4 separate regions of the Homo sapiens genome follow, and regions 2, 3 and 4 are each linked to region 1. The links are contacts of gene promoters, found by promoter capture Hi-C in human tissues and cell types (Jung and others, 2019). All regions are on one chromosome and are shown on one strand. The core of a region is centred on a gene start or on the middle of the fragment in contact, and the rest is flanking DNA. Distances in the headings are between cores, read along the strand shown.

Region 1 (6,079 bases), core at 2,401-4,900:
CAGGAGTTTGAGACCAGCCTGGCCAATATGGTGAAACCCCATCTCTACTAAAAATAAAAAGAGACACACAGATGACAGAAATGCTCCATCTAGGACTAATGGAGACAACCCTCAAAGGAGTCTGAGGGCTCTCCTCCATTTCTACAGCCTGTAAAGGATGGAGACAAGCAAACCACCTGATCACCCCACCCTGGGATTCTTCCGGAATCAGGCTGCAAGCTCTCCAGCAAGTTAAATACCTCACTGTGAGGACAGTTCCTAAGAGTGAGGTGAGTAGGGTAATTACTGATGAGCTACAGACAATGCCCTTAGGAAAACTAAACTCTGAGTCTTTAAAAGGATTATGGATTTGATATCCCAAGGTAGACAAACATCAAAGTAGAAAGAAAAAAGCCACCTCCCAAAGTCAAGAAACACCCGCACATCTGCAATGCGAAGACTCTCAGCTTGATTTTATCTGTGTGAGTGGCTGCATTTTGGGGTCTGTTTCCAAGAAGGTCCTCCCTTTTGAGTTTGCGTGCCTACATTCCTTCCAGGGAACTGGCCCCTCCTCCCGCCGAGCACAAGGCATGGAGCGGTGTTCAACAGCTGTCTTTATCCCACAGAGTAGGTTTATGGGCCTACCCCTCTCACCAGTACCACCAGAACCCTCCAGCAAACACCCCTCAACCCAGCCCTTTTTCCAAAACTCTTAAAGAATTCCCTTCATTTTGCCTTTTTTTTTTTTTTTTTTTTTTTTTGAGACAGAGTTTCGCTCTTGCTGCCCAGGCTAGAGTGCAATGGCGTGATCTCGGCTCACTGCAACGTCCACCTCCTGGGTTCAAGCAATTCTGCCTCAGCCTCCCGAGTAGCTGGGATTACAGGCATGTGCCACCACACCCGGCTAAATTTTTTATGTTTTTAGTAGAGACAGGGTTTCTCCATGTTGGTCAGGCTGGTCTCGAACTCCCAACCTCAGGTGATGTGCCCACCTCGGCCTCCCAAAGTGCTGGGATTACAGGCGTGAGCCACCACGCCCGGCCTCATTTTGCCTTTGTAATTGAGGGTTTGGGTAAGGACACAACACACAGAGGAAAGACATAATCTTATTTCTGAGGAACCTCTCCTAGTGATAAGGTCACAGGAAGTGCATTTTACCAAGTAATTCTGTAGAAGAAGCCTGAGTGAACATTTCTCCACCTGGGAATCCTGCGACTGTACAACCTCTTGCAAGTTGTGCCTGTCACGCTGCCCTCTGTTTTGTTTTGTTTTTTTTTTTTTTTGAGATGGAGTTTCACTTTGTCACCCAGGCTGGAGGGCAGTGGCACGATCTTGGCTCACTGCAACCTCCACCCTCCGGGTTCAAATGATTCTCCTTCCTCAGCCTCCTGAGTAGCTGGGACTACAGGTGCCTGCCACCGCGCCCAGCTAATTTTTTGTATTTTTAGTAGAGATGGGGTTTCACCAACTTGGCCAGGCTGGTCTTGAACTCCTGACCTTAGGAGATCCGCCTGCCTCAGCCTCCCAAAGTGCTGGGATTACAGGCGTGAGCCAACGCGCCCGGCTACGCTGCCCTCTGTTGAGTCGGCCTCACATACACTCTTCAGTGTCCCTATGCACCTGCCTGCCATGCCCTTACCTGCAGAAGGCCCCTATGTTCTCCACCAGGTAGCACTGGCCGCCATTGTGACAGTAACTTGGGAAGAGGTCGCACACTGACCGGCAGGAGCCGTTATGCCGCACAAAGCCACTGCGGCACTCAGTGCCATTTTCACTGGAGGCCAAGTCCCTGCCTGGCTCTCCTGGGCGGGGCCTGAGGGCGATGCTGCTGCCGGGGACCGACCCCAGAGTGTGCTGTGGAGGGACAGCATGCCACCGACTGGTGGGCTGGCCTGTCCCGGGCCCCAGACCAGGCTTCCCAGTGGGCACTAGAAGCTCATTTTCATCTTCTAGGTCTCCACCTCCTACTGCATCTTTGTCATCCTCCTCTTCCTCCTCCTCTTCATCCAAGTCATCATAAAAGGATGTGGTGGGGTAGAAATCAGATTCATCGAAGGGGGTGAAATCATCGTATAAGTCAAGCAGGCTCCAGGAAGGGGTCTCTCCCTCAGTATCAGGGTGGTTCTCTGAGGTTCCTGGTGACCCTGGGAAGCTCCCCAGATCTGCGCCACGACCCTCACCATCCAGTCCTTCGAAGTAGTCGATGTCAATGATATCTGATGCCGGTTGGGGCTCCAGGGTGCCCTGAAATGGGTAAGTCAGCTCTGGCCCTTGAGGGTCGGGTGTGCTGCCCCCCAGGTTCAGCCAAACCTCCAAGGGGCTCTCCTTGGGGAGTTCAGAAGCTGGGCTCAGCTTGTCGCCGGGGGTGGGGGAGGGTGGCCCGCTGGCCTCTGTAGCCTCAGGAATGGCAGGGGGCATGATTGACTGCCCGAGGACCTCGTGGGGAGCCTGGAGCGTAGCTGGAAGGGCCTGGGCATCGCCGCTGCCCGCCTCTGCGGTCACTCCTCCCAGGCCTGGGCTGTCAGCTTCCAGCCAGGCGGTGCCGGTCACCGCAGCCGACTCCTGCAGCACCTCTTCTGGCCCGGCCAGCTCGCCACCGGGCGCCGTCCACGACGCCTCATCTTCCCCAGCCGCTGGTGGGCCGGCTTCTTCCCGCGTGTCGTTGGCAGGCGGCTCCCACGCCGGGCTGCCCTTCACCAGCTCTTCGGCCTCAACCGCGCTGCCCGCCTCACGCGCTGCGGGCGGGAGGGCAAGGGGCGGGACGTCAGGGCGGCGCGCTGAGGAGCCCTGGAGCCCCGGCCCGCCCCGGTCAGGCCCGCTCGCCTAGACCTGGTCAACCCAGACCTCGCCACCCTCAGACCCCACCGCCCCAGTGTGACCCCAGCCACCCGGTACCTCTAAGCCCCGTCCCGGAGTCTGCCCCCAAGACGAGGATCACACCCCGCCCAACGCCTCGCGGCTCGGCCCCGCCCGACCTGCCCCGCCGTCTGAAGAGCCAGGCCAGGGCGGCCCCCAGCTCGGCCCACCCATAAGTCTCACCCTCGGGAACCCACCCTGAGCCGCGTCCACTGGCTCCCGCCCTCAGCTCCAGGTCCCGCCCCGAAGTCTCACCCTCAGGCCCCGCCCCGGCCCCGCCCCGGCCCCGCCCCCGGCCCCGCCCCCAGTCCGCACCGCGGCCCGCGCGCTTGGGTCCCGGCTACCCCAACCGGGGTCGGCCCCCACGCGGGTCGGCCTTTCCCGGACCCCCACCACCTCCTGGGACCATTCCGCCGCCCGGCCGCGGCCAGGCGGTGCCCCGCCCCCTTGCCACAGCTCACAGCTCCACCTGTCCCCGCCGCCAGCGGGACCCCTGCCCTGGGTGGGGCACGAGGGCCGCGGGGGTCCCGGGCGCAGTCATACCTACCCGGCACGGCCCCAGAGGCCAGGACCAGCGCGGCCCCCAGAAACAGCAGCAGTGGCGGCGGCCCCCGGCCCGGGCCCCCGCCCCCGGCTCGCCCCATGGCGCGGCGCCCCGACCGCTGTCCGCGGTCCGCCCGGCTGGCTGCGCCCTCGGCTCGCCCGGCCGCCGCGCCTCCCGCCGGTTCTGCGGCCGCCTCAGCCCACGATGGGCAGCGCGAGGAGCCGCATGCCGCCGCCGCCGCCGTCCGCCGCTGTCCCCGGCGCGCCGCGCCTCCCCGCCTCCCGCGCCGCCGCTGCCGCCGCTGCGCTCAGCGCCGCCCTCACCCCGCCCGCCGCGCCGGCCCCGCCGCACGTAGCGGTGACGCCGGCCCCTTGGTCAGCCTGCCAGGGGAACAGACAGACCCCTCGCTGGGGACTAGGAGACACACGGACGGGGAGTGCGGGGCAGGCGGACGGGGAGCGCGAGGCAGGCGCACGGCGCGGCGCGCGGCGTTAGGCGGCAGGTGCACGGGCGGGAGACCTGTGGGATGGGGCCACGGTCCCGCCCCAGGTGAACAGGCGGCACGGGGCCCCGACCCGGAGGAACCCACCCGCCACGCGGCAAGCACGGAGGCGGGGACGTCGCGGGCCCAGTTACCCGCAGGGTCGGGGCGGGGTCCAGAAGAGCCGCAGGGGGCGGAAGCACGAGCCCCCACTGTGGAAACAAGCCAGGCCCGGGGCGCATGGAGCCTCTCGGATTCTGCACCAATCCCGTGTTCCGGGCGGGAAGGCTCTCAGGGAGGTCTCCGGGTCTCCACGAGGGAGGGGCGGGCGTTGGCAGAGCCTGGCAAGGGGGCGAAGCCGACCGCCCAGGCTCTAATCGGATCAGATCTAATCCGTTCGCAGCCAAAGCCACTAGCCTAGATCTCGCACAGCCAGGCCCGCCATAACGCATCCCGGGAGCAAGGGGTAAGACCCTCCCTGGGACTGCGGCTACCTCGCCTTCCTTCTAGTCTCCGGGCAGCCTGGGGAGCGGCCTTTAATCCTGGTCCCTTCTCCGGGATACGTCGTCCCCCAGGTGTCTCAGACCACCAAAACTCAGGTTCCTGGGTAGACCAGGGGGGTCTAGATCCCCAGCCGGGCACACATGGATGCTTGGCTTTAGAGTGATCTGTGGGGCCCATTCACAGCTTCAGGGCTCACAGGGCAACCCAAGACCACGCACCAGGAGGTCTGCTTAGTCGGCAGGAGGAACCGCAACCTAGTTACTTAGTTTATTCCCCCAAACCGACCGTCTACCCCTTAATGTGTTACTCACCCAAATGACAGTTCAGGGTATCAGCCCAAGGAGATAGGACAACTCCAGTATTTAAGAGACGGTCCCATTGCTGTCTTAGAAGACCAAATAAGTGACCAAGATGGAGATTCTATCTCCTAATCTTTCTGATACATATCTCCAGATGGAGTTGCCTTGGTTCAAAACCTGTTTCTCAGCAGAACTATGGCTGCAGCCTATTTGCCTAGCCTAGCGTCTCCACCTCTCCTGCCTGGTAAACTCCTCATGCCAGAAAAACTCAGTTCTTATCACCTTTCCCTCTATGAAGGCTTCTCAGCAGTTACACTTAATGCCCATCATCTCATCTTATCTACAGTTATTCCTCACTGGACTGCAAGGCACTTGAGTGCACAGGGCTGGTAACAGAGGGAGGCTCCATATCAGACAGGCATAAATGAACGAATGGCAACCACCCACACCCATCCCAGAACTGTGGTCTGGAGAGCCTTGAAAAAAGGGGTAAGGCTCTTTCTTTCATAGTTTCATGCTGCCTCCGGGGACCAAGTAAAATATGTTTGAAACAATAGCCTTCTCTAAACAGGGGACCATGTAGGGCTTTGCACTCACCTCAGCCACAGAGGCAGCAACGCACCCTTAACTGCCTCCAACCCATCTCTGCTTCCCTTGTGTGCAGCTTAACTCCTGTCACCTTTTACTGTATGTAGACTCTCTGTGTTCCTTTGCTTGTTTCCTCAACTCGGGTTGTGGCTGTCAGAGCGGCCTACCTCCTCCTTCCCTTCCTGAGGCCAGTCTGTGTGGGAAGACCTCATGGATGGGTTCCTTGATGTCTGGGGCATGACAACCACTCACACATTTTCAACAGGGTTTAATGGAGGAAGTTCTCCCACTCATTTTAAATATATTTTGTTAATTATTTAAGTATCTTCTTCTTCCCTTTCCTGGAGATGAAGTCTGCTAACGCTTCCTTCAATTTGGAATTTTTTTTTTTTGTTGAGACAGAGTCTCACTCTGTCACCCAGACTAGAGTGCAATGGTGTGATATTGACTCACTGCAACCTCTGCCTCCTGGGTTCAAGTGATTCTCTGCCTCAGCCTCCCGAGTAGCTGGGATTACAGGCATGCCACGCCCGGCTAATTTGGTATTTTTTGTAGAGACGGGGTTTCTCCATGTTGGCTCAGGCTGGTCTCGAACTCCAGGCCTCAGGTGATCCGCCCGCCTTGGCCTCCCAAAGTGCTGGGATTGCAGGCATGAGCCACCGTGCCCGGCCCAACTTGAGACTTTAAATCAATTGTTGCCACTCAGTTTCATTCTGATCTTCCCTAGTGGATCTCACTAGCAGTTTGAGAACTGAGCATAGCACACTTGGTTGGGTAACACCTCCACAAGATGAATGGGAAAATTCAGTCAGTGGAACGTGATGGGAA
Region 2 (6,079 bases), core at 2,577-5,076, 190 kb after region 1:
TGACAGTCCTCCAACTCCCACCCTTTCCATTACACCAGACTGATCCAGTTGGTGAGAATTCCTGCCATGAGGTCAGTCATACTTACTGGGAAGAAATTCAAAGGTGTCAGAAAGAGATAGCTTATGAACTGTGACTCATCTAAAACATCCCAAAATAGTATTATCCAGTTCAATCACACCACCACATTTGTTAGAACTGGCTATGACAACATTTTATGCTCAACGTATTTACAGGTGTTCCACCAAATCACGTAACAATTGAAAATAAATTTAGAAAATGTTGAATGAGGCTAGGCACAGTGGCTCACACCTGTAATCCCAGCACTTTGGGAGGCCGAGATGGGAGAATCACCTGAGGTCAGGAGTTTGAGATCAGCCTGGCCAACATGGTGAAACCCTGTCGCTACTAAAAATATAAGAATTAGCCAGGTGTGGCTGGGTGCAGTAGCTCACGCCTGTAATCCCAGCACTTTGGGAGGCCGAGGCGGGCAGATCACGAGGTCAGGAGATCGAGACCATCCTGGCTAACACGGTGAAACCCTGTCTCTACTAAAAATACAAAAAATTAGCCAGGTGTGGTGGCAGGCACCTGTAGTCCCAGCTACTCGGGAGGCTGAGGCAGGAGAATTGCTTGAACCCAGGAGGCGGAGGTTGCAGTGAGCCGAGATCACGCCACTACACTCTAGCCTGGGCGACAGAGCGAGACTCCATCTCAAAAAAAAAAAAAAGAGAAAACGTTGAATGATAGTTCCCTTAAAATAGGTGTATCCATCTCCTCAATGCATCTCCTTCTTCAACAGTAATAATCTTTCTTTTCCTCTTTTTTATTTTTCAATCTTTTTTAGAGACAGGGTCTCACTTTGTTGCCCAGGCTAGTCTCGAGTTCCTGGGCTCAAGTGATCCTCCTGCCTCAGCCTCCCAAAACGTTAGGATTACAGGCATGAGCCACCACACCCAGCCCTTTTGGGTCAACACTTTCAGAGGACAAGGCAGGAGGATAGCTTGAGCCCAGGAGTTTGGGACCAGCCTGGGCAACAATAGCGAGACTCCAGCTCTAAAAAAAAAAAAAATTATAAAAACATAATAATTTTTTCAGTGAGTTCTGACAACTGCTTTAAAATACGTCAGTATTACACTTTACATTTTTGTAGATATATTAAGAAAAGCTCAATTTCACAAGATTGTTGCTCAGGCTAGTCTCAAACTCTTGAGCTCAGAGGACCCACTCACCTAGGCCTCCCAAAGTGTTGGGATTATAGATAGGCATGAGCCACAGTGCCCAGCTGAGATTTTTTTTTTAAGAAAAAAAATATATATATACAGTATTCTGTTTTATGTTTACACTATATTTTCACAACACAAAATACTTCAGTTAGGTTTTTTTTCTCAAACAGGGACTCACTGTCGCCTAGGCTGGAGTGCAGTGGCATGATTATAGCCCACTGCAGCCTCAACCTCCTGGGCTCAAGAGATCCTCCTACCTCAGCCTCCCAAAGTAGCTGGGACCACAGGCATGCACCACCACACCAAGCTAATTTTTTTTTATTTTTTGTAGACGGCTCTCACCATGTTGTCCAGGCTGGTCTCAAACTCCTGGGCTCAAGGACTCCTCTAGCCTCAGCCACCCAAAATGCTAAGATTATAAGCATGAACCACTGCACCCAGCCTTTCTCTTTAGGAAAAAAAAAAGAGAAAGAGATATTGATGGGATTTCGCTCTATCACTCAGGCTAGAGTGCAGCAGTAGTACTACTGTAACTCATGGCAGCCTCTAACTCCTGGGATCAAGTGATCCTCCTGGGTCAGCTCCCAAGTAGTTGGGACCACAATCACACACCACCATGCACGACTAATTTTTAGTTTTTCTGATAAATAGGGTCTCAATATGTTGCTCAAGCTGGTCTCAAACTCCTTGCCTCATGTGACCCTCCTACTTCAGTCTCCCAAGTAGTCTGGATTACAGGCATGAGCCAGTGTGCCCAGCTAAATATGTACTGTTCACTGTACATTGGCCATACTTCAGCAAAGCTGTAGGACACATTACAGGGAGAGAGAGAAAGATGAAAAAAGTAAAAATATAGAAAAAATAAATAAATGAAACATCAATCAAATAAATAAGTACAATGTCAGTGAACTCAGGTTTCTACCTACGAATCCACATGGTACGGAGTACAAACCTGCACTGAAGTTGATCATATAGCTTTCCAGAGCCTTGCCCACCACCTGGTCCAGCATGCCCTCTGCCTGGAATACTAGTCCATGTCTCCAGCACAGCAGCCCATATTCTGCAGCCTACTGAGCTCTATCTAACTGGTCATGCTACATCATGTAGGCTCACTGCCCTTGCACATGAATTATAAAGGCCAGAAGCTAGCTAACTAGATTTTTCAGATTTAACTATTCTTCTACAGTAATTTGTTTTATCCACACGTATGTGGCTGAGCAGTTCAGTTAGACTATTTGTTTTCTCCATGTTGGCAAATTATTTCCTACATGGCCCCCAAGTTACAAGAATATCTATGAGTTCATTAGTACAAAATTCAAAAACAAGCAAAACATAATACTATATTATTCAGGGATGCACACTAACACAGTGATACCTATAAAGAAAAGCAAGGAGGCCAGGCGCGGTGGCTCACGCCTGTAATCCCAGCACTTTGGGAGGCTGAGGCAGGCAGACCACCTGAGGTCGGGAGTTCAAGACCAGCCTGAACAACATGGAGAAACCCTGTCTCTACCAAAAATGCAAAATTAGCCGGGCGTGGTGGCGCATGCCTGTAATCCCAGCTAGTCAGGAGGCTGAAGCAAGAGAACCGCTTGAACTCGGGAGGCAGAGGTTGCAGTAAGCCGAGATCGTGCCATTGCACGCCAGCCTGAGCAACAAGAGAGAAACTCTGTCTCAAAAACAAAAACATACAAAAAAAAAAACGGCAAGGAAAAGATTATCTGTGGGGAAAAAGAGGAGTTTATGGTTGGGGAAGGAACACATACGTTTGTTAGGGTTGTTAGCAATTTCTGACCTGGACTGTGGTTAAATGGATGTTCTCTTTATAATTATTTAAGTCAAAATTTATTTTACTCACTTTCTATATATTTTACAATAGGAAGTTGTTTAAAAAAAAAAAGAAAGAAACTAAACCATTATTCCACAAGTAAATTTCCTACACTATTTTGCTTAAACAGGTGCTCATATTCCACTTTCATCAGACAGAGTTCTAAGCTACAAACTCAAATGCTCACTTCAAATATATATACAACACTTACGGTCTCCTTCCTAGTCCCATGTTCCCAAAGATAGTCTCTCCATTCTGAAATTCATACAACAGCAGAGTGAAATCAGTTCAGGAATATAATATTCTACATTTTTCCTCCAGTTGCAAATTAATTTTTTTTTTTTTTTGAGATGGAGTCTCACTCTGTCGCCCAGGCTGGAGTACAGTGGCATGATCTTGGCTCACTGCAACCTCCGCCTCCTGGGGGCTAGCAGTTCTCCTGCCTCAGCCTCCCGAGCAGCTGGGATTACAGGCGCCTGCCACCACACCCGGGTAATTTTTGTATTTGTAGTAGAGACAGGGTTTCACCATGTTGGCCAGGCTGGTTTCGAACTCCTGACCTCAGGTGATCCACCTACCTCAGCCTCCCAAAGTGCTGGGATTACAGGCGTGAGCCACTGCCCCCAGCCTAAATGATTTTTTTAAGTGCAATGACAGGTTTACAATTTTGGGCATAAGGGTACATGTTCTCAAGATCTCCTGGAGCTGTGTCACGTAAAAAAGAAAACAAAATCTTGGATATCTCCCAAACACAATTAAAATCCAGTTACTTGAGACTCTCACTTAACCTTCTATATTTCTTACTCTCAGAGCTTTCCTGTTTTTTTAAACACAGATGCTTATAATCCATTTTAAAATGCAGAATAAAAAAACAGCTCTAGGCCGGGCACTGTGGCTCATGTCTGTAAACCCAGGACTTTGGGGGGCCAAGGCGGAAAGACTGCCTGAGCCCAGGAGTTCGAGAACAGTCTGGGCAACAGGGCAAAACCCTGTCTCTACAAAAAAAAAAAACAAAAATTAGCAGGGTGTAGTGGTGCATGCTTGTCCCAACTACTCAGGAGGGTGAGGTGGGAGGATCTACCTGAGTCTGGAAAGTCATGGTCGAATATGCAGTGAGTTGAGATCATGCCACTGCACTCCAGCCTGAGTGACAGAGTGAGAGAGACCCTGTCTCAAAAAAAGAAAAACAGCTCTATCCTATTATTACAATTATGTTTACATTATGTATGCACACGTACTAAAGCCTTGGAGGGCTTGTGGGAAAATTAGAAACTTTACTTGTAGTGAAGGTAAAATATATTTTTCTTTTTTGTTTTATACCCACATCTTCTTAGCAATTTTTTTTGTTTCAAATCATGTGTTTGGTAATGCAATATACCTTTAGCCTTAGCCTTATGAAATGCTTGGTTCTTTCTAAATCTCTCAGCATTTGATAGAACAAGAGCCAGCTGTCCGACATCCAGCATGACTTGGGAAGTTACTATATAAAGTTCCACTCTAGCTGGGCATGGTGGCTCACGCCTGTAATCCCAGCACTTTGGGAAGCCGAGGCATGCGGATCACGAGGTCAGATCAAGACCATCCTGGCTAACACAGTGAAACCCTGTCTCTACTAAAATACAAAACAAAATTAGCCGGGCGTGGTGGCGGGCACCTGTTGTCCCAGCTACTTGGGAGGCTGAGGCAGGAGAATCGCCTGAACCCAGGAGGCGGAAGTTGCAGTGAGCCGAGATCACACCACTGCACTCCAGCCTGGGCAACAGAGCATGATTCTGTCTCCAAAAAGAAAAAAAAAAAAAAAAAAAAAGGTTCCACTCTGATTTTTTTCTTTTCCTTTTTCTCTTTTTTTTTTTGAGATGGAGTTTCGCTCTTGTTGCCCAGGCTGGAGTGCAATGGGCACAATCTCGGCTCACTATAAACTCCACCTCCCGGGTTCAAGTGATTCTCCTGCCTCGGCCTCCTGAGTAGCTGGGATTACAGGCATGTACCACCACACTCGGCTAATTTTTTATTTTTAGTAGACATGGAGTTTCTCCATGTTGGTCAGGCTGGTCTCGAACTCTCAACCTGAGGTGATCCACCCACTTCAGCCTCCCAAAGTGCTGGGATTACAAGGTGTGAGCCACCGCACCCAGCCTCCACTCTGATTTAAAAAAAAAAAAAAAAAGTCCAAATAGTGAACTCGGCCGGGTGCGGTGGCTCACGCCTGTAATCCCAGCACCTTGGGAGGCCGAGGCGGGTGGATCACAAGTTCAGGAGTTCGAGACCAGCTTGGCCAACATGGAGAAACCCCGTCTATACTAAAAATACAAAAATTAGCTGGGCGTGGTGGTGGGCGCCTGTAATCCCAGGTCCTCGGGAGGCTGAGGCAGGAGAATAGTTTGAACCCGGGAGGCAGAGGTTGCAGTGAGCCAAGACTGCGCCATTGCACTCCAGCCTGGACAACGACAACAACAACAAAAAAACAGTGAACTCTTTTTTTTTTTTTAAGACAGAGTCTCAGCTCACTGCAATCTCTGTCTGCCAGGCTCAAGTGATCCTCCCACCTCAGCCTCCCAAGTAGCTGGGCCTACAAGCGTGCAGGCACCACCACACCCAGATAATTTTTCTTGTATTTCTTTGTAGAGACGGGGCCTATGTTGCCCAGGCTAGTTTCAAACTCCTGGGCTCAAGAGTTTTGACCACCTTGGCCTCCCAAAGTGCTGAGATTACAGGTGTGAGCCATGCCCAGCATAAACTCTTATACCATACTGATTACTCAGGGAAAAAACTTTTTAAAGTATGTGATTTATATGTCTCACTGAAACATTCTTTGCTTTGTTAATTATCTATCTCATCGAATTTTGTTTTATACCATTATGGATTGTATCAATCCCTTTCATCTGGGAAAGTGTTGAACACCATTTTGAGAGGAAGGCAAGTACATCGGTTCCCAGTGGCACTAAACCAGGAATTGTTTTTAATTACGGCTTCTGCCTAAAAATATTCTTCCCTAATATTTTAAAATCTGGAACTAAATAATGGTTT
Region 3 (6,079 bases), core at 2,017-4,516, 170 kb after region 1:
AGAAATGCAACCTAGACTGTGAGGTTCAATTAAAGAACACAGACAAAGTTCTGAGAGGCATGTTAGGCATGGGGCAAGAATGACAGGTCAGTATTCAGATATCCAAACAGAGTGGGGAGTTACTAAAATATGCACTCACTTCAAGTGTGCGAGGCACAAGAGATGAGAGAAGGTGCACACTGAAACTGGACACATAACTATACCTGAAAGGAAATAATTCTGGCACAATCTGCATAAAAGACTTGGAAAAATTCTTATTCCTGACAATGCTAACCCTATCCTTTACGTCTTTTTTAGTCCCACTTTTAATTTTAAGGAAACTGTATTACATATATCTTCCTTTTTTTTTGAGACAAGCCACTGCACCCGGCCTGTATTACACGTATCTTTCTAAACTACTGCAAGTGATTTCAGATAAAAATATTTCACTGTGGCCGGGCATGGTGACTCATGCCTGTAATCCCAGCATTTTGGGAGGCCGAGTCTGGCGGGTCACCTGAGTCAGGAGTTCAAGACCAGCCTGGCCAACATGGAGAAACCTGGTCTCTACTAAAAATACAAAAATTAGCCATGTGTGGTGGCAGGCACCTGTAATCCCAGCTACTCAGGAGGGTGAGGCAGGAGAACTGCTTGAACCTGGGAGGTAGAGGTTGCAGTGAGCCGAGATTACACCACTGCACTCCGGCCTGGGTGACAGAGCGAGACTATGTCTCAAAAAAAAAAAAAAAAAATTTCATTGTGCAGAAACTACAGACACAAAGCAAGTTCCACAATATGTGACCTAGGAAAAATCATATCACTTTGGTATTCTATCCTCAAGTGTCCAGGTTAGGACTTGTGATAAAAGCTAAACAAGAACCAAGGACAGAAAAGAGTTCCAACTGGGAACCCAGAGTTAACAGTAGGGTACAAACCATCTCTACAAGTACAGAGACATGCCGTTGCTCCTAGATAGGGAATACCATCGTGAGAGGTCCAACATCAGAGCTAGACACAGAACTGGAAAACAGAGAGCTACCTCTGATAACAAAAAGAAACAAGTCTCATGCTACTTTAGTCAATATCTTTTTTTTTGGAGACAGCCCAGGCAGGAGTGCAGTGGCGCAATCTCAGCTCACTGCAACCTCCGTCTCCCGGGTTCAAGCAATTCTCCTGTCTCAGCCTCCTGAGTACCTGGGATTACAAGTGCCTGCCACCAAGTCTGGCTAATTTTTTTTGTATTTTTAGTAGAGACAGGGTTTCGCCATGATGGCCAGTCTGGACTCGAACTCCTGACCTCAGGTGATCCAAATCAATATCTATTAAACACCATCCATATATAAAAAGTTTCAGTAAATACACATGTAAGTTTGTATCTCCTACTATTTACTATATAAATAATTTATTTAATTACACACTTGTCCTTATTGTTGATCTAAATATTTATTTGCACTTCCCAACCATAAAGTATTGGGTTAGCTTAACTTTTAAAGTAAAATATATAAATTACATGTGTATTCTCCTGGAAAGATGCTAAGGTTATAAACTGTGCACCACTAACTCAACTGAAAATACCAAACAATTTCAGGACAATATACTCCACTCCCCCAACCCTACCCTGTGAACTATGTCCCTGACAACCCCACAGCTCAGGACATCACTAGTCCCAGTAACTGATGGAAACTCCAGAGTTCAAGAGAAAAAAAAGAAATAGTACCAAGAGAGACAGCTAGAAAAGGGGAAAAGACTGAAGGGAGCAAAATGGCAGGAATATCTGCAGGGATTCTCAATCTATCTACAACACTGACCTAGGCAAAGATCTCTATTTCTTTTATCCCTGTCCTGAGGATAGCAAAATGGAATACTCTTGCAGGCCTAGATAACTTTATCTCTTAAAACTGCTATCTGGCCAGGCACGGTGGCTCACACCTGTAATCCTAGCACCTTGGAAGGTCAAGGCAGGTAGATCGCCTGAGGTCAGGAGTTCGAGACCAGCCTGGCCAACATGGTGAAACCCCATCTCTACTAAAAATGCAAAAATTAGCTGGGCATGTGGTGGCAGGTGCCTGTAATCCCAGTTACTCAGGAGGCTGAGGCAGGAGAATCACTGGAAGGTTGCAGTGAGCTGAGATGGTGCCACTTCACTCCAGCCTGGGCGAAAAAGCGCAACTAAGTCTCAAAAAAACAAAACAAACAAACAAAAATACTATCTATCCACTTCAAATATAATGTATGAGTTCATTATACACACACATTTCATGGCAAGCCTACCTTCTAATTTGCTAACAATGTACACCTGTTACTATAAAAATCAAATATAAGAAATCACTTCCCTAATAAATACTTGGTTGTGGCCGGGTGCGGTGGCTCACGCCTGTAATCCCAGCACTTTGGGAGGCTGAGATGGGTGGAGTGCTTGAGGCCAGGAGTTTGAGAGCAGCCTGACCAACATGACAAAACCCTATTTCTACTAAAAATAGAAAAATTAGCCAGGCATGGTGGTGCACGCCTACAGTCCCAGCTACTCAGGAGGCTGGGGCATGAGAATTGCTTGAATCTGATGCGCGGGATGCAGTGACCTGAGATTCCACCACTGCACTTCTAGCCTTGCCAACAGCCTTGGTTGGTCCTATTTTTAAGACCCTGTCTCAAAAATAAATAAATACGTGGTTGCTTGATATTTTTCTTGGATGTAGAAACAAGGTAAATTAGGGCTCTTGGTAAAACACATTAATCATCATGTGCTTACAGGATTTTCTAACACAAGGAAACAGGACTTAAAAGTAAATAACTTAAGATCAAAACATGCAAACAAATACAAAAACTTACCATCCCTGTTCATTTTTATACTTGTAAGCAGCCCCAAGAATGTGACATAAGGCGCCTCCAGCTTTGAAATCCATGAAACACTTTGCCTAAAAATGATACAAATTACACATGAGAAAAATAAAGCTTCTGACAAAATTACTCATGTCTTAATTCTAAGTTTTATAAATTCAAATATATAAACAAATACTAATTAAACAACCTCCTTAAACATCTTCTTGAATAAACTGAGGAATCAATACATTTTTCTAAAAGTAGATTAGGCTGGGCATGGTGGCTCATGCCTGTAATCCCAACACTCTGGGAGCGTGAAACAGGAGGATCACTTAAGCCCAGGAGTTCAAGACCAGTCTGGGCAACACAGGGAGATCCAGTCTCTAGAAAAAAATTTAAAAATTAGCTGTGCATTGTGGCACACACCTGCAATCCTATCCAGGAGGCTGGGGTGGGAGGATCACTTCAGCCTGAGAGGTTGAGCCTGCGGTGAGCCCTGATCGCCCTACTGCACTCCAGCCCTGGATGACAGAGTGAGATGCTGTCTCAAGAAAAATCAAATGAAATAAACTGAAGTGAAACTACTTTCTTGTAGCCAGTACAGTGGCTCACACCTATAGTCGCAGCTACTTGGGAGGCTGAGATGAAAGAATCACTTGAGCACAGAAATTCAAAACCAGCCTGGACAATATAGCAAGACCCCATACCCCTCCCCAAAAGAATTCCTTTTAAATTCCATAAACATATTATAATTTGAGTAATTAGTCTGTCAAAAGAAAGATTTTAAAAAGCTAAATATAGGCCAGGAGCAGTGGCTCACATCAGTAATTTTTTTTTTTTTTTTTTTTTGAGATAGAATTTTGCTTTTGTTGCCCAGGCTGGAGTGCAATGGTGCTATCTCGGCTCACTGCAACCTACGCCTCCCAGGTTCAAGTGATTCTCCTGCCTCAGCCTCCTAAGTAGCTGGGATTATAGGCATGCATGACCACGCCCGGCTAATTTTGCATTTTTAGTAGAGACAGGGTTTCTCTATGTTGGCCAGGCTGGTCTCGAACTCCCAACCTCAGGTGATCTGCCCGCCTCAACCTCCCAAAGTGCTGTGATTACAGGCATGAGCCATCGTGCCTGGCTACACACCAGTAATTCTAACATTTTGAGACACCAAGGTGAAAGAATCACTTGAGGCCAGGAGTCTGAGACCAGCTTGGGCAACACAGTGAGATCCTACCTCTACAAAAAATTTAAAAATTAGGCCAGGTGCAGGAGTGGCTCACACCTGTAATCCCAGCATTTGGCAGGCCGAAGCGGGCAGATGGCTTGAGCACAGGAGTTCAAGACCAGCCTGGGCAACATGGTGAAACCCCGTCTCAACAAAAAATGCAAAAGAAATTAGCCAGGCATGGGGGGAGTGTGCCTGTAGCCCCAGCTACTGGGAGGCTGAGGTAGGAGGATGGCTTGAACCTAGGAGGCAAAGGTTGCAGTGAGCTGAGACCATGCCACTATACTCTAGCCTGGGCAATAAAACCAGAATTTGTCTCAAAAAAATATAAATATAAATATAAATATAAATATAAATATAAATATAAAAATTAGCCAGGCATGGTGGCACACGCCTGTAGTCCCACCTACTCAGGAGGCTGAGGTAGGAGGATTGCATGAGCATGGGAAGTCAAGCTGTAGTGAACTGTGATGGTGACAAATCCAGCCTGGGTGACAGAGTGTGACCTTATCTCAAAAAACAAATTTTTTTATAAAAAAGATAAATCAAAATGGTTCCAAAGAAAATGCCTGTAACCCCAGTACTCTGGTTGAGAAAGAAGGCAGGGAGGAAGGGAGGACTGCTTGAAGCCAGGAGTTTGAGGCCAGCTTGGGCAAGGAAGTGAAACTTTGTCACAAAGAAACAAAAGAAAAAAAGAAATATAAGGATAGTGGACTTCTTCGCCTTATAAATTCTTGACTATAAATATACAAAAATTAGGCCAGGCATGGTGGCTCACGCCTGTAATCCCAGCACTTTGGAAGGCCAAAGCGGGTGGATCATGTGAGGTGAGGAGTTTGCCACCAGCACGGCCAACATGGTGAAGCCCCATCTCTACTAAAAATACAAAAATTAGCCAGGCATGGTGGCGGGCGCATGTAATCCCAGCTACTCGGGAGGCTGAGGCAGGAGAATCGCTTGAACCCAGGGGCAGAGGTTGCCAAGATCACACCACTGCACTCCAGCCTGGGCGACACAGTGAGACTGTCTCAACAAAAAATAAAAAATAAAAATAAAAACATAAATTATGCAAAAATTGTAAGTGAACACTTTTATTATACTTTTTTATCTTTTTGAAACAGGGTCTCACTGTGTTGCTCAGGCTGGAGTACAGCTGGGTGATCATGGCTCACTGTAGCCTCTGCCTTCTGGGTTCAAGGAATTCTCGTATCTCAGCCTCCCAAGTAGTTGGGATTACAAGCAAGTGCCAATACGCCTGGCTAATTTTTTTTCTGTTTTTTGCATATTTAAAAGACAAACTTTTGCCATATTGGCCAAGCTGATATGAAACTCTTGATCTCAAGTGATCCGCCCACCTTGGCCTCCCAAAGTGCTGGGATTACAGGCATGAGCCACCGCACCCGGCCTATTATAATATTTAATGACCATAAAAATGTGGTGTAACTATATAAAACTATAATAGCTAAAATCTATGCCACAATTCAAGAGATCTGTGCTTTACAGATTAAAAATATAGCTCAAATTAAACGAAATGGTGAATAATTTCCACATTATGAAGGTAAAAACAATATAAACTGAGCATCGAATAGGCTAAATAAGATGAAGTGTTATTAGAAACACCCATGCATTTTTTTCTCTAAAAACTATTACTACAAAATAATATACTGGAAAGAACCACATAGGTGGCAAACATTAAAAAGACAAAAAGCAGAATGGTGGTTGCCAAGGAAAGAGGGACAAGGAATGAAAGTTATTGTTTAATAGATACAGAAGTGAGCATAGTTTCTCCATCCCATAATCCCAAACCTTTGGGAGGCTGAGGCAGGAGGATCACTTGGGCCCAAGAGTAGAAGACCAACCTGGTCAACATAGTGAGACCTCATCTGTTTAAAAAAAAATAGTAATAAATAAAAATAAAGAGTATCCTGTAATCCCAGCACTTTGGGAGGCCGAGTTGGGTTGATCACTTGAGGTCAGAAGTTTGGGACAAGCCTGGCCAACATGGTGAAATCCCATCTCTACCAAAAAATACAAAAATTAGCCGGGCGTGGTGGCACGCAC
Region 4 (6,079 bases), core at 1,703-4,202, 130 kb after region 1:
AAGATTTTTCAATAAAGTAAAACAGGTCAGGCGCGGTGGCTCATGCCTGTAATCCCAGCACTTTGAGAGGCCGAGGCAGTCAGATCACCTGAGGTTAAGAGTTCAAGACCAGCCTGGCCAACATGGTGAAATCCCGTTTCTACTAAAAATACAAAAATTAGCCAGATGTGGTGGCACGTGCCTGTAGTCCCAACTACTTGGGAGGCTGAGGCAGGAGGATAGCTTGAACCCAGCAGGTGGAGGTTGCAGTGAGCCGAGATCGCGCCACTGCATTCCAGCCTGGGCAACAGAGTGAGAATCTGTCTCAAAAAATAAATAAATAAATAAAAAATAAAAGTAAAACAACACCCCAGGAAAAGGAACCAGAAGTCTCTAAAAGCTATCACAAACCCAATACTAACACACCTTCTTCTCAGTGTCAAGTCGTCTTCTAGTGACACCTACCACACAAGTTGTCCTTCCACAACTTGTGCCTTACAAGGAATCATGGGTAAATATCTAAGCAACTGAACGTCTTAAAAGATTAAATGATATAAAATGTCAAGTCCTCCACCCTCAGAAAAGTGGATTGAACTATAACTGTTAACATGTTTAAGGCCTATACTTTACACTAACTACCATCTGTGGATTAACAGTTATTTAAGAATATTAAACAGGTCGGGTGTGGTGGCTCATGCCTGTAATCCCAGCACTTTGAGAGGCCAAGGCAGGCTGATCACCTGAGGTCAGGAGTTCGAGACCAACCTGGCCAACATGGAGAAACCCTGTCTCTACTAAAAATGCAAAAATTAGCCAGGTATGGTGGCAAGCGCCTATAATCCCAGCTACTTGGGAGGCTTGAGGCAGGAGAATCGCTTCAACCCAAGAGGCAGAGGTTGCAGTGAGCCGAGATAGTGCCACTGTACTCCAGCCTGGGCTACAGAGCAAGACTCTGTCTCAAAAAATATATATACATACTAAACAAAATGAGTTTTGCATAGGAAAACCAACAGCTACATTAAATTCTGCTGTGATATTACACTTCAGATCTAGTGGGCAAAATCAGCTATACCACTACCCTTCTGCATGGGCCACTTTAAATCTTAATAACCTTTTAAGATTTTCATACCACTTTTTGGGAGGTTATTGTTTCTGAGATGGCTATTACAGCCACTTTGGAATTTTCACCTGATGGCACATCAGCCATCAGGCAGATGTGAAAGTTCCTAAGTGGTTTGTATATGACAGCTTACTGATGAAGATTTAATAACATTTAGGCCAAGAAGACAGACTTAATGATGAGAAACTGTGCCAAAGAAAATACCTCTTCATTCTTGGTTGAAATCCGCTGACGAAAACTCACAGGCTTCCTATTTTCATCCACCTCATAATCCTCCTCATTCATCCATTCATTGAAAATATCAGTGTCCAAAATCCATTTCACATGAACCTAAAACCATATCAAAGCATCAATATCTACATAAATAACAAAATCACTCAAGGTTTTACAGTATTGAGAAGGAAACAAGCTGATTTATTTTCAAAGCCTCAAATGCATAAAACATTAATAATGTGATACTACTAATGATATGTGAGTTGTAATTTAATCATCTCTATTTTTATTCCATATTAAAGAGAACAAGAAAGCATCAATAATTTATACTAGACCCAGATTTTGATAGCAAAGTCCCTCAAATTTGTTTTGCTTAATCATTTCATCCTTATGTTCATGAAAATCACTGATAAAAACATTCAACAGCACAGAGCCAAAATCAGTCATTGCTTTAGGCACGAAGGATGTCTTTGGGTTTATCAACAACACTCTAAGTGTTGATGACAGAGCACATTCGCAGAGGCCGATCACCTGCCCCATCATGTACACATGGTGCTCTAGGTAGGAATGGAAAAGTGACAGTCAGATGGTGGGTTCTTCCTAGTCCTTTATATGGCCACCTCCCTTGTTTAATTTCATGCTTCTGAGTAAGAATAAAATGAAAGGTTGTGTGGACGTACAAATGTAGATGTATATATACATATAGATAGATACTTAAACCACAGGCCTAACCCATATAACATTCCATATTATCCAACAGTATTTCTCAATGGGGGCACAACTGGAATTTGACACTAGAAAATTCTTCCTTGTACAGAAAAACTCAAGTCATGGTGGAGGTTTAAGTTGGAGTAGTGTTGGTTGAAATGAACATGTTCAGTCAAGAACAGATTACAATTATGAAGCCTTTCTAGAACACTGTAAAAACAAGATACACTGTGGCAATGACTAGAAAACAATATGAACTTCCTAGTAATTTGTCAATCTAAACTCCCTGTTTTCAAAGAGCTACTAAACTGGTTATTTGGGATATGCCTTTCAAGTACCTTGAGTTAAGAATGATACCCATCTGACTACACGCCTCCTCTCCCTTGAAAACTATAGTTACACAGTAATATACAGAAACACCAAATTAACAGCCTGTCCAAGACAAATAAAGCCTCCAATAATGTAACCTGAAAAGACTCCTAAATGGACAAATTATGGGAAGAGTGTATAAACAGAGCAGTATAAATAGAGCAGAATAAATAGAGTGTATAGGCCGGGCGTGGTGGTTCATGCCTGTAATCCCAGCACTTTGGGAGGCTGAGGCGGGCAGATCACCTGAGGTCGGGAGTTCAAGACCAGCCTGACCAACAAGGAGAAACCCCGTTTCTACTAAAAATACAAAAATTAGTTAAGGTGGTGGCACATGCCTGTAATCCCAGCTACTCGGGAGGCTGAGGCAGGAGAATCACTTGAACCCAGGAGGCGGAGGTTGCAGTGAGCCAAGATCACGCCATTGCACTCCAGCCTGGGCAACAAGAATGAAGTTCCGTCTCAAAATAAATAACTAACTAACTAACTAAATAAATAAATAGAGTATATAAATAGAGGCTTAAGCTAGTTAGAAAAAAAAAATAGGACTGTGCTAAATAAAAGGGTTAATTAACTGATAGTTTAGAAAATAAATGTCAAAATAGTGTTTTCCAAAGTGTGAGAAACATGTGTATACATTGCTTCCTTTTTTTTTTAAAAGAGCTGAATTTTCACACTGATAATCCTTTAACTACTGAGAAATCCTTGAAAGAAATCTCCTGAGAAAGAATGTTAGAGGAGTATGTGACAGCTAACAACTGTTTGTGTCAGGCACTATGCTGAACATCTTACACGTATAATCTCATTTAACTCTCCTAAGCACAGTGAAATAATGCGGGTATTATACTCTCTGGCTTTCCAAATCAGAAAACTTGGGCAAACAGTTTTAGTAAGCTGACTATTTACACTCCTAATTAGAGGCAAAGCTTGGATTTGCACTAAGTTCTCCCTGAGCTCTCAAGTCCTATGCTTTGTTATCTCTCTCATAAAAAATACCTTCATGTCAAAATAATACAAAAGTCCATGTGTCCTTGGGTAAAACTACTTAACTTGTGGAGCCTAGTTTCCTTCCTAATAATGTGATACCATAGTTAAGTAATCATTCCCAGTTCTGATACTATAATCTACAGGGAAATAGATGTCTAAAAATCCTTCAGTAGTACTTCACAACATTACATGGCTCATGAGTCACATGGCTTACTCCTTTACTATTAGATGATAGTATAATTTCAACATTTAATTTCCAAAAATAGTTAAAAACAGAAAAATCTGGGCCAGGCGCAATGGCTCACACCTGTAATCCCAACACTTTGGGAGGTCCAGGCGGGCAGATCACAAGGTCAGGAGATCGAGACCATCCTGGCTAACACAGTGAAACCCCATCTCTACTAAAAAAAGAAAAATTAGCCGGGCTTGGTGGCGGGCGCCTGTAATCCCAGCTACTCAGAAGGCTGAGGTAGAATGGTGTGAACCCGGGAGGTGGAGCTTGCCGTAAGCCGAGATCGCGCCACTGCACTCCAGCCTGGGCGACAGAGCCAGACTCCGTCTCAAAATAAATAAATAAATAAATAAATAAATAAATAAATAAATAAAAGATAAATCTGGAAGAAGGGTACCAAGTAGTGCTTTGTTTTGTACTACTCTTGCAACTTGTAAAATTAATTTTTTTGTTTTGAGACAGGGTCTTAACTTGTTATAAAGGCTGGAGTGAAGTGGTTGCAATCACGGCTCACTGCAGCCTCAACCTCCTCAGCTCAAGCAATCCTCCTGCCTCAGCCTTCCAAGTATGTAGCTAGGACTATAGGGCACTTGACATTATGCTCAGATAATTTTTTTTTTTTGGTAGCTCAGGCTGGTCAAGCAATCCTCCTGCCTTAGCCTCCCAAAGTGTTGTTATTACAGGTGTGAGCCACCATGCCCCATAAACTTTATTTCCACATCAAAAGTTGATTAAAAGTCAATGTATGGACTCTTATTACATTATGGTAGAAATGATTAATAAAGTAAGTCTGTATCATTCTAAAAGTCACACAGGCATTGCTTCCAAGCTACCCAAATGACATCATCAGTGATGTTCAACTCTACTCCTCACACTCCTCTCTCACAAACCACAATCTGACCTGCCTTTGGATTCTCCTCAAACATCAAGCACTGCAGACATTTCATCTAAGACCTAGATAATAAAGTCTTCATGGCCGTACGTATCTTGTAAATGGATGACAGGAAAGGGAAACCAACATTCTGTATCTCCTTAGAGAGACTGCTGTAGAAAACAGCTGAGAAGAGCTATTAGATTATTGTAAGAATTTTTTTGGCCAGGCACGATGGCTTACACCTGTAATCCCAGCACTTTGGGAGGCTGAGGCAGGCCGATCACCCGAGGTCGGGAGGCTGAGGCCAGCCTGACCAATCCAGTAAAACTCCGTCTCTACTAAAAATACAAAAATTAGCCTAACGTGGTGGCGTGTGCCTATAGTCCCAGCTACTTGGGAGGCTAACGCACGAGAATCACTTGAACCCGGAGGCGGAGGTTGCAGTAAGCCAAGATCGCACCACTCCACTCTAGCCTGGGCGACAGAGTGAGACGCCATCTCAAAAAAAATTTTAAAAAGATTATTGTAAGATTTTTTTTGTTAAATCATTTACCTTCCATGGTTTTTCTGGAATTGGTGGATCTTCAATTTCAGCATCAACATCATTACTATGGACCCAAGTATCATAGCTATAAAGGAATCAAAATGAGAAAAACAAATTAGAGTCAAAGGTAATTCATTAGAAAGACTTTTACAAATAATAAGAACATGTTTTAGAAATACTACTAAAATCCCAGCCTGGTCAACATGGTGAAACTGCGTCTCTACCAAAAAATACAAAAATTAGCCGGGCATGGTGGGATGTGATTGTAGTCCCCACTACCCAGGAAGCTGAGGTGGAAGAATCGTTTGAACCCAGGAGGCAGAGGTTGCAGTGAACTGAGATCACACCACTGCACTTCAGTCTAGGCAACAGAGTGATACCCTATCTCGAAACAAAACAAAACAAAACAAAAAACTAAAAGAAATACTACTAAAATCTATTAATAGAAACTTATCAGACACTTTTGTCCTTACTATTCTGCCAAGAAAGCTCCTCTGTAGAGGTCACCAGTAACGTATATATTGCTAAACCCGAAGTTCAAGACTAAGATCAAAAAATTTTAAACAGCTGCTTGGTCTTTCCTCAAAGCATTTCCCTCACTTGGCCACCAAGAAAGTACTATCACCTGATAGTCCTTATATTCACCAGCCTCTCTTCAGTTTCCATGTCAGTTTCTGGTCTTAGTCCCAAATGTCTTCAACCTCCAAAAGTTCCTGGGTTCAGTTTTTGGAAAAATCCTTCTCCCTTGCTAATTTCATTCATTCCTATAACTCCAAATATACGCTGATGACTTCAAATTTTATATCAGCACTCTCCCATGTATTCTGAACTCATAAATCCAACAGCCAACTCCACATCTCCTTGTGTAGAACATCTAACAAGCATTCCAAACCTAACACTCAAAGCTCAACTTGCAATGCTACCCTGGCCCCAGCGATGTACTCTAGCCAATCATTTCCATTTCAGTAATGACAACTTTATCCTTCCTGCTGTTCGCCAAAATCCTTGGAAACAGCCTTGATTCCATTCTCAAGCACATCCTGTAATCAAACC

Evidence for each region. The method cuts DNA at HindIII sites, captures the fragments that hold promoters and counts their contacts. A contact is called where the count stands out against the background at its distance.
Region 2: a fragment that was not itself captured here is called in contact with the fragment with the promoter of CSPG5 in region 1 in 1 of the 25 tissues and cell types used here (mesenchymal stem cells).
Region 3: a fragment that was not itself captured here is called in contact with the fragment with the promoter of CSPG5 in region 1 in 5 of the 25 tissues and cell types used here (IMR-90 fibroblasts, aorta, heart left ventricle and 2 more).
Region 4: a contact is called between a fragment that was not itself captured here and the fragment with the promoter of CSPG5 in region 1, in 5 of the 25 tissues and cell types used here (IMR-90 fibroblasts, aorta, dorsolateral prefrontal cortex and 2 more).

The regions. Positions count from the first base shown.
Region 1 is chr3:47,575,215-47,581,293 of GRCh38, forward strand. CSPG5 (chondroitin sulfate proteoglycan 5) reads right to left here and starts at 3,651. Exons shown (of 5, transcript NM_006574.4): 1 at 3,383-3,651; 2 at 1,619-2,714. The coding sequence starts at 3,479. RefSeq lists silencers at 965-1,259, 2,862-2,951, 3,002-3,061, 3,102-3,151 and an enhancer at 4,276-4,980. The HindIII fragment of the contact is 21,614 bases long and covers 1-6,079 here.
Region 2 is chr3:47,762,352-47,768,430 of GRCh38, forward strand. All of the region lies in intron 2 of SMARCC1 (SWI/SNF related BAF chromatin remodeling complex subunit C1), which reads right to left. Among named protein-coding and RNA genes, the nearest start is that of SMARCC1, 17 kb to the right of the region's middle. The HindIII fragment of the contact is 7,286 bases long and covers 184-6,079 here.
Region 3 is chr3:47,743,100-47,749,178 of GRCh38, forward strand. It overlaps SMARCC1 (SWI/SNF related BAF chromatin remodeling complex subunit C1), which reads right to left. Exons shown (of 28, transcript NM_003074.4): 3 at 2,809-2,894. Among named protein-coding and RNA genes, the nearest start is that of SMARCC1, 36 kb to the right of the region's middle. RefSeq lists an enhancer at 22-161. The HindIII fragment of the contact is 9,491 bases long and covers 1-6,079 here.
Region 4 is chr3:47,709,380-47,715,458 of GRCh38, forward strand. SMARCC1 (SWI/SNF related BAF chromatin remodeling complex subunit C1) reads right to left here. Exons shown (of 28, transcript NM_003074.4): 8 at 5,036-5,111; 9 at 1,304-1,429. Among named protein-coding and RNA genes, the nearest start is that of HIGD2AP2, 50 kb to the left of the region's middle. The HindIII fragment of the contact is 9,280 bases long and covers 1-6,079 here.